Regions from separate parts of the Homo sapiens genome. Here all the other regions are linked to region 3. Evidence: promoter capture Hi-C in 16 types of primary human blood cells and fetal thymus (Javierre and others, 2016). All regions are on one chromosome and are shown on one strand. Each heading gives the region's core, a stretch centred on a gene start or on the middle of the fragment in contact. The rest is flanking DNA. Distances are from core to core; before and after follow the strand shown.

Region 1 (3,453 bases), core at 244-2,743, 750 kb after region 3:
AATTTCCACTTTTATTTTAGATTCGGGGGCACATGTGCAGTTTTGTTACATGAGTATATTGCATAACGCTGAGGTTTAGAGTATGATTAATCCCATGACCCAGCTTGTGAGCATGGTACCCATAGGTAGTTTTTCAGACCCTTGCTCTTTTCTCTTATTCCCCCCTCTAGTAGTCTCCAGTGTCTATTGTTGCCATCTTTATGTCCATGAGTACCCAGTGTTTAGCTCCTACTTATAAGTGAGAGTATATACTATTCAGTTTCCTGCTCCTACAATAATTCACTTAGGATAGTGGCCTCCAGCTGTATCCATGTTTCTGCAAAGGACATAATTTTGTCCTTTTCCATGTCTGCACAGTATTCTATGGTGTATATGTATGTACATTTTCTTTATCCAGTCCACCATTGATGGACACCTAGGTTGACTCTATCTCTTTGCTATTGTAAATAGTGCTGTGATGAACATATGAATACATGTGTCTTTTTGGTAGAATAATTTGCTTTTCTTTGAGAATATACCCAGTCATGAGATTGCTGGGTCAAATGGTAGTTCAATTTCTAGTCCTATCAGAAATCTCCAAATTGTTTTCCACAGTGGCTGAACTGATTGACATTCCCACCAACAGTGTATAAACATTCCCTTTTCTCTGCAGTCTCACCAGCATCTGTTATTTTTTGACTTCTTAGTAATAGCTATTTTGACTGGTGTGAGATGGTATTTCATTGTGGTTTTTTGATTTGCATGTCTCTGGTGATTAGTGATGTTGAGCATTTTTTCATACATTTGTTGGACACTTCCATGTCTTCTTTTGAGAAGTGTCTGTTCATGTCTTCTTTTGCTTGTTGAATTAAGTTCCTTCTAGATTCTGGATATTAGACCCTTTGTTGGATGCATAGTTTGTGAATATTTTGTCCTATTCTGTAGGTCCCAGCTACTTGGGAGTTTGAGGCAAGAGGATTGCTTAAGCCCAGAAGTTGGAGCTTCAGTGAACTATGAACAGCCACTGCATTCCAGCCTAGGTGACAGAGTGAGACCCTGTCTTTAAAATATATACATAGATAAAATTTAAAGATTCATGGTTTTCATAGTTAAATGCTTTGCATTAAAAAAATGCTTTTTTCATTTGGAAAAGTAAATATTATCTTATAATTATTTTCTTTCTTTAGTTCAACAACTGAAAAGTCTTTCACAGTTAAAACTGTCCTTATTTAGTGACAGATTTATAATTGACTCACATTTTTATTATTTTTAAAAGTATTTCAAAATTTAACTTTTTCTTTTGAATTTTCTAGTTGAAAATATAGTGCTTACGTTATCATAGTAAAGAATCAGAATATATTCACTGTATATATAATTATATTTTTAAAAAATAGATATAATGGGGTGTGGGTATAAACTAGAAGAAAAAACATTGTAATGTGATAACATCTGTAAAACTGAACCAACAATTTTCCCCCTTGAAGTTACCAGATAGTCTATAATGTAGCTATAGCAATCCTCTAGAGAAATAGTGTTTTTAAAACAGACAAAAATAGATCCTATAGATTTTCTTAATGTAATTTTCTGATCTTTTTCTTCCATCTGGTGGTCTCAAATTACAAATTATTTCCAATGTTTACTCAGTTACACAACTGTATACCAAGAGTTCCAGATGGCTTTTTACAACAAAGTTAAAGAAATGTTTCTGCTAAACACATTTTATGAAGGACTTCAAAAGACAAATGATGCAAATACATTTTGACAGAGAGACCTAACACTTTGGAATATGTAAATCTTTGTTCCTCTCTGGAGTATGTGGGAATGCTCTGTAACACTATTTAAATGATGACAAAATAATGTTGGGTATACAAACATAGTAGGGAATAAGAGAACTTGAATTCTAATCTCTCTTCTGCTCTAAATTGCTCTGCAATTTGAACAGTTTCTTAACCTATCTGAGCCTGTTGTCAGATGCAAAACCTGGAGAGCATGTTTCTCTCTCACATCACATTGCTGTTAGGCAAAGTTAAGGACTGCATTAATTAATGTTATTTTAACATTATTGGTTTTGAATCAGTAGCTAACCATCCAAAGAGAACTAGAATGTTAATTTGAAAAGTGTCTTATTAGCAGCAATATTAAAATGACCTAATTCAGTTGCACAAGTTTAATGGAAATTAGAATTGGAGAGAAAAGCAGCAAGTTCAAAAAGAAAGTAATAAAAAGAAGAAAATAAGTTGAAAAATACCACAGACTATTCAAAAGAAAGGCTCAGAGTTATTCAGAAATATTAGCTTTAATTAACCATAAAATGTATATACTAATTATCTATTAGGAAATTGTGCAGTGCAATAGGCTTGTCCAGATAATATCTACCCCTTCTAAGGATCTGCAAGCGAATTTTCTAAAATTCATGTATTCAAATAACTAATCTTTTGTAAAACAGTAATAATAATGCCACAGGTTTTTTGTTGTTCTTTTTTGTTTGTTTTTGTTTTGTTTTGTTTTGTTTTGTTTTGAGAGGGGGTTTCACTCTTGTTGCCCAGGCTGTAGTGCAATGGCACGATCTTGGCTCACTGCAACCTCCGCCTCCCGGGTTCAAGTGATTCCCCTGCCTCAGCCTCCCAAGTAGCTGGGATTACAGGCACGCACCACCACTCCCAGCTAATGTTTTGTAGTTTTAGTAGAGACAGGGTTTCGCCATATTGGTCAGGCAGGTCTCAAACTCCTGACCTCAGGTGATCCGCCCGCCTCGGCCTCCCGAAGTGCTGGGATTACAGGCGTGAGCCACCACGCCTAGCCCACAGTTTTTTTTAAAGTATTACTTAAAGTCTTACAAAAAGTGTTGCTATTGTAATCAGATTGAGAATGTGTTTTTGGAGGCTTAACAGGCATCTAGCATATTGCTGTCATTCTTTTACTAAGACAATATCATTAACAGTGGCTTAAGTTGATATGGTCTGCTATCTTTTTCTATTCATACATAAACATGCAGCCTTTTGTTCATGGATGCCCGTTCTGTTAGCCTGTTGTAAGATCCCAATTTATGTTCGTGGAACTGAATTGAGCTAACTATACAGATCTTTGACTACCACTTAGTACAGAGGCTTGTGCATAGAAAGCTATCCAGTTTAAATACGGGCCAAAAGTCCTGCAGAATTGCTGCTGCTTCTTGCAGACAATTATTTAAACATCGAATGCGTTTTAAATGGTGTATAACTTATAAGGCAAGAAATTTATAAGTAATACAATTTCTATAAAAGAGAAAATATCACTGTAAAAAATTTTTTTCTTCTACTTGTAGGAATCAGAAATGTCTCAAACTGAGTATAACCCACACAGTTACTATTGAGGAAAAAAATTCCAATTCTTAGGTACTTTAGAAAGAAATTAAAGGTGAAGATATTATATATCTAGAGAGTGTGTTTTGCATTACCTTTGTGCACCATTAAGCAACCCAAATTATTTTTGTCA
Region 2 (3,243 bases), core at 614-3,113, 530 kb after region 3:
GCAAGACTCCGTCTCTAAAAAAAAAAAAAGAGGGAAATAAACATTTATTTGTATATTGTTATGTAGCCATTAAAATTCTGTTTCCAAGTAATTTTAATTACAGGGGTAAATTCTTATATATCTAAATAAGAATATACACATACACATGTTCCAAAATATTTATTATGTACTTAAGGCATATATATTATATATGTATGTGTGTGTATATATATATGTATTTGTGTGTGTGAACACTAATATTTGCATATATATACACACAAGAAATAAAAACATGTTAAAAATGGCTATATCTGCATTGTAGAATTATGAGTGATTCATGTTTTTCTAACTTCCCTATCTGTATTAAGTGTTCTATAGTTTATATTTGTTACTTTTTACATCAGGAAATAGTAAAGTTATTATTTAAAACTTATGAACAAAAAAGTAACAAGCACATGCAAGCACAGAGTTCTACCAAATGCAAAAAATTTCAAATCAATTATTCAAATGAGACATTAACATCACTTCTGTGGTAGTTTTATATCCATAAAGTCTGATTCTTCTCCTTTGAAGAGATGAAGCTTAATCTTCCTCATCCTGAAAATGGGCTGGACTTAGTGACTTACGTCTTTTTATTTTATTTTTAATTGACAAATAATAATTGTATGTATTTATGGGGTACAATATTATATTATTATATATGTATACATTATGGAATTATTAAATCAAGCTAATTAACATATCCATAACCTCTTATAATTTCTTTGTGGTGAGAACATTTAAAAATGTACTCTTTTAGCAATTAGGGACTTACTTTTAATACAGGAAAATGGAAGAGACTGTGAGACTTTGAAGTAGGTCATAAAAGTCACTGTGGCTTCCTCCTTGCTCTCTCTTGGACCACTTGCTCTGGGGGAAGTCAACTGCCATGTCCTGAGCAGCCCTGGAAAGACCTACATGATGAAGAACTGAGACCTTCTATCAAATGCCAGCAGGGAATTGAGGCCTCCTGTCAACAGCCATTTTAGAAGTAGATCTTCCAGCCTCAGTCAAGCCTTCAGATGACTGCAGCCCTGTCTAATAGCTTGACCGTAATTTCATGAGAGACCTTCAGCCAGAAAACCCAAGGAAACCATTCTGGATTCCTCATCCTCAGAAACTGTATGAGATAAGAAGTGTTTGTTGTAGTACGCCGCTAAATTTGGGGCAATTTGTTACATAGCAATGTATAGCTCATACAATTTCTGGGAAAAAAATAGTTTATTTTCGAATCATTTTTGCATAATGCAAGAATATAAACTTGTCACAGAATAATTTATCCTTGTTTTAGGTGGTCCAAATATTTCATTGTCAGTTATATATTAGCTCAAATTAAATTTTAGATAATATATATTATTATTAATGGTAAAGAATGTGTCACATTTATCTTTATAGCTTTTCTGTACCTAATATTGTGTCTTGTGCGTAGGATGTGCTCAATAAAAATTGATTGAATAAATAAGTGAATGAAAGAATAAATGAATGAGTGAAGGAATTATCTGAAATATTTTTATAAAATTCCCCATATGTATGTATTACTTATTACAAGTCTGGTCCCATAGCTGAAAAAATATTAAACATTATATATATATATATGTTTTTCCCTGATATAGTGGTATATTTTATTATCTCTTGGCTCTACTATGAAATATTCAGTTAGGTGTCATTACTGTTTAATTTGGTTTAGGGCTATTTAGATTGGTTTTTGAAACTGAAGGGGAAAGAAGCCCCTTGCAATGCAATTGATGAAGTGATAAAGACAGCAGGTATAACTATTAGGTGGAGGCATATATATGGGAAAGAACAAGAAATAGGATGTAGTTACAGAGGGCAAAACCTTTCAATGACATTCATTTGTCTTCTAAATTAATAACATCTAATACCTATTAGATTGAGCCATTTGAAATTGCCAATATTTGACCTACAAAGGCAATGATTTCATATTGTTCAAACTAATAACAACTTATTTGCTGGGCACTACGTTTAATATTCATTACAATTCCATAAGGAAATTATTCTTTCAACCTCATGCTACAGATAAAGAAAGTAAGCCATGGAGCAGTTAGGAGATTTGCCAAGGTTTTTAGTAGAAGAAATAGGTAGGATTTAAACTTATGGCTCCAGAAGCCATACAGTTAACCACCATAATCTGTGGCTTCCCCCGAACTATGCTTCCCGAATCTGCCATTCTAAAATGTGTCCTCATTTTTAAGTGGAATAATAGTACCTACTTCATTGGACAGTTGGGGGAGTTACAAGAATAGCACATGTAAAGCCTGGCACTTTGCACATAAGAATGTGATAAATATTAGCTATGTTATAATTAAACTTCAGTATATTCCCCAACCACCATCGTAGCCTTATCTTCTACTAAGACTTACTGCCCACAGCTATGTCATTTTTGTCTTAAAACCAGCCAAACTAAATCACTCAGCCTTCCCTGAAACACTGCACACTTTAGCACATCTCTTTCTGTTGAAACATTCCCATTTTCTAGTCCCTGGTTAGGGTCCCTTCTTCCATTACCTTTCCTGGTCTCTGTAACAATGTGTGATCTCAAGCTCCTGTGTACCACAGTTTCAGTTAGCTCTGCTCTTGTGACACCAGAATTTTGAAATTTGCCTTTTATTATAATTCTTTATGTGCTTATATCTTGTATAAATGCATTAGTGATCTGGTGAAATCATATTCATATTTGTATTATTCCTTGTAGTATCTAGCACAGTGTATTGAATGCATTAGGTACTCAGCAAATGTTTATTGGATCTAATTCACTAATGCATATGAATGTGTTGAAGTCACTGAAGTGAGGAAAAATAATTAAACTCAAGGAAAGGGTATTAGAATGATAATTAATTTTTTTATAGTTCTCTAATCAAAATAATTCATTTATTTAAGCACTTAGTTTTACTTTATCTTTTATACAAAAATATCTGGAAAAATAAAAACAAGTCCAAATGATACCCATCAGTTCTTTATGTCTTTTGCAGAAAGATTTCCAAAGAAAAAAAGTACTATCACAAATAATCACTTCAAGCTCAAATTAATTTAAGTGCATTATATTGTATTGGTGCCAATACAGCATCACATATTTAGGGTAAAGATTAAAGGTGAAACCTTTAGGAAGGTAACTTTATTATGAAGCTTATGATTAGGAAGGTAACTTTATTATGAAGCTTATTTCATTCAGTTTGGCAATAAACATTTTCAGTATTGGCATAGACA
Region 3 (3,411 bases), core at 491-2,990:
ATGGGGGCCATACCTTCATAACCTCACCTAAACCTAATTACTTCCCATGGTCCTGTCTTCTAATATTAGCACATAAGGGAGTCAGGGCTTCATCATCTGAATTTGAAAGAGACACAAACATCCAGCCTATATCAGTAAGGTTGTGAAACACCACTTCTATTTTGTTATTTAACAAATATTTACATAACACTTTACATGCACTGATGGTTTACACATATTAACAATCAATACTTCTAACAACCCCGTGAGGCAGGCACTATTATAAGCTCTTCTACAGGGGAGAAACATGAGCAAATAAAGCATAAATTACCAAGGGTCATGAAGCAAGTTAGTGGTATGGCTGAAACTTCAGCCCTGACATCCTTATCAAGTGATCTCTACAGCTGCAGCATCCAGGGAACACTCTATTCCTAAGGTAGTCCCACTTCTTCATCCTCGTGCCACTCCCAGCCCTTCTCATAGCAGTGGCAGAATATCTCCATATCCCTGAAGTCTGCATCCACCAGGAAGAATTAAGACAGAGTATTGTAGGCCTACAGCTTAATTTTTAAAGAGAGGGGGTCATTGAAATTGATGATGAAAAGTCAGTAATCCAGTGAGAAGGCATCAGCTAAACAGGCTTGGAAATGCTTTATTGACATTCCTCTAGAACTAAAATTTCCTCGATAGCTGTTTCTCTAGAGGGAACCAATCCCAGGATGCTGGTAAATACATATGGCATGGAAATGCAATTATGTTAGCAATCTAGTATGTATATATCAGACATGTCTGCTTGTGCTTAGAGTAGTAAACAAGCGGAGTCTCATTCCCTGCTCCTTTTCTGGTGGTGTCTATGGCCTTTTCTGCCCAGGGACAGCACTAGAAAAGGCAGACCTCCTGAGCCCAACAGGCCCCTCGCAGCTCCCAGTGACTTCCATGGATCAAAACACAGACTTCCATACAACAAAAAATTGATGCTACTGGAATTACTAGAGTTCGAGATGTTCCAAGATTTCAAAGAGAGAAAGGATGGGGGATTGCAACACTGTTAACTAAAATAAACACTGAATTGACCCTTGGCAATGGTCTGTTCCCGCACCCAACACCTGGCTCCACTACGTTGAAACACACACACACACACACACACACACACACACACACACACACACACGTGATATTTGCTTTTAAGATCATAAAACACCAGGAAGGAGACAAAAGCTCTTATGCGTCATCTGAGATGACACATGTACTGTTAAAGCGTGCGTTTATTTCAAACATTAATGAAATTTGCAGAACCCAAACTAAAGAGAGAGGATAGATAAGACATGCTGCAGTTCTTGCCCTAACTTTCAATCCCAACAACTGAAATGTCTTCCAGAGAAGTAACTCCCCCCGGTAAGGATGTAGCGCGGTCCCTACGTGGGTCTAAGGGATCTGACCCACGACGCACTGCACTGGGTTCACGAAGCGCCTCCTCGCAGGCGGTTATCTCGGTATCTCTGAGAGCGGCGGGCTCTCGCTCCCGCTCCAGGGATTCGGGGCAGAAAGAGAACATCCCACAGTTGGCGGGAGTTACGCAAGACAGTCAGACCCGGACGTCACTCGTGAGTGCCCCGACCCCCCTCCACCCCAGAGGCGGGGCCATCGCCTTCCTTCCGAACTCGGGATCGATCTGGAGCTCCGGGAATTTCCCTGGCCCGGGACTCCGGGCTTTCCAGCCCCAACCATGCATAAAAGGGGTTCGCCGTTCTCGGAGAGCCACAGAGCCCGGGCCACAGGCAGCTCCTTGCCAGCTCTCCTCCTCGCACAGCCGCTCGAACCGCCTGCTGAGCCCCATGGCCCGCGCCACGCTCTCCGCCGCCCCCAGCAATCCCCGGCTCCTGCGGGTGGCGCTGCTGCTCCTGCTCCTGGTGGCCGCCAGCCGGCGCGCAGCAGGTGGGTCCCGGCGCCCTGGGGTCCCCGGGCCGGACGCGGCTGGGGTGGGCGCCCCGCGCCGACAGCCCCGCTCAATCAGCGAGTCTCTTCTTCCCTAGGAGCGCCCCTGGCCACTGAACTGCGCTGCCAGTGCTTGCAGACCCTGCAGGGAATTCACCTCAAGAACATCCAAAGTGTGAAGGTGAAGTCCCCCGGACCCCACTGCGCCCAAACCGAAGTCATGTAAGTCTCGCCCATCGCTGCCGCTGCCACTGCTGGGGTCCCCGACTCTCCCGCTGCCCCAAACCCTGTCCTCAGCCCGACCTCCTGTCTCACGAGATTCCCTTCTCTCTGCAGAGCCACACTCAAGAATGGGCAGAAAGCTTGTCTCAACCCCGCATCGCCCATGGTTAAGAAAATCATCGAAAAGATGCTGAAAAAGTAAGTTATAATTTCCATGTACACAGGCGACTGGAGCTGTTGGTCAGAAATACTGGCGTCTGCCCCCTAAAAAGTAAATCAGGAAAACCCAGGGTTAGCTGCAGGACTGAAAAAATTATTATTTTCACAAAGTTGCCATTAAGGTTATTAATCTGTTCTGGTGCCAGAGGATATTCCCAGTGCCCAGGGTCACCACCCAGGTTCTTCCCTCCTGCCAGTGAATGTAGGTAAAACTGCTTTCATGTAAGGTCTCATTGGAGTTTGCCAGTTGTGCTGAAGTGTTTTCCACCTGTTAAAAAACACAAGCTTCATTTCCCCTAGTTCCTACTGACTTTCAGACCTGAAAAGCAGACCCCCTGGTTTTTTGTAAAAGTTTAGGGTTGAAGTGCAGAGATTTCACAATAATATTGCACTGGGTATATAACTGGTTGCCACCACCTATTAGCCATGTCACTCAGAGACAATATTATTTAGTTTATCTGAGACTCAGCAAAACAGGGAAAATAATGGTAGCTACATCATGAGGTTGCTTTGAGGCTCAAGTGAGGCCCAGTATGACAAAGAGCAATAGGCTCTGGCTGTTTTAGCCAGTAAAACAGTGTAGACTGCCACTCCTCCACCCCACGTCACCCCCATTCCTAAAAGAGCATCCCAAGCCTAGAGGTCCTTGCCACACAGCACAGCTGTCACAGGCAGTACCCACTTGGGTGCCAGGCTGGGGAAACTGCATTCAGAAAACTCTAGAGCCTGGGGAAACAGGACAGGAGAAGACTGTTGTGCAGTCAGCTTTCCTGAGCACCTACTCAGGGCACCCATTTTCTCATTACAGTGGCAAATCCAACTGACCAGAAGGAAGGAGGAAGCTTATTGGTGGCTGTTCCTGAAGGAGGCCCTGCCCTTACAGGAACAGAAGAGGAAAGAGAGACACAGCTGCAGAGGCCACCTGGATTGCGCCTAATGTGTTTGAGCATCACTTAGGAGAAGTCTTCTATTTATTTATTTATTTATTTATTTGTTTGTTTTAGAAGATTCTATGTTAATATTTTATGTGTAAAATAAGGTTATGATTGAATCTAC

The links. The method cuts DNA at HindIII sites, captures the fragments that hold promoters and counts their contacts. A CHiCAGO score of 5 or more calls a contact.
Region 1: a fragment that was not itself captured here is called in contact with the fragment with the promoter of CXCL2 in region 3 in 1 of 17 cell types (fetal thymus); the score reaches 5.2 in fetal thymus.
Region 2: a fragment that was not itself captured here is called in contact with the fragment with the promoter of CXCL2 in region 3 in 3 of 17 cell types (fetal thymus, neutrophils and megakaryocytes); the score reaches 10.9 in fetal thymus.

Annotation. Positions count from the first base shown.
Region 1 is chr4:73,345,907-73,349,359 of GRCh38, reverse strand. All of the region lies in intron 3 of ANKRD17-DT (ANKRD17 divergent transcript), which reads right to left. Among named protein-coding and RNA genes, the nearest start is that of ALB, 57 kb to the left of the region's middle. The HindIII fragment of the contact is 8,702 bases long and covers 1-3,453 here.
Region 2 is chr4:73,569,918-73,573,160 of GRCh38, reverse strand. It overlaps RASSF6 (Ras association domain family member 6), which reads left to right. Exons shown (of 11, transcript NM_177532.5): 11 at 1-1,611. Among named protein-coding and RNA genes, the nearest start is that of RASSF6, 49 kb to the left of the region's middle. The HindIII fragment of the contact is 2,602 bases long and covers 563-3,164 here.
Region 3 is chr4:74,097,524-74,100,934 of GRCh38, reverse strand. It overlaps CXCL2 (C-X-C motif chemokine ligand 2), which reads left to right and starts at 1,740. Exons shown (of 4, transcript NM_002089.4): 1 at 1,740-1,914; 2 at 2,013-2,136; 3 at 2,251-2,334; 4 at 3,164-3,411. The coding sequence starts at 1,815. The coding sequence ends at 3,179. The HindIII fragment of the contact is 3,135 bases long and covers 1-2,278 here.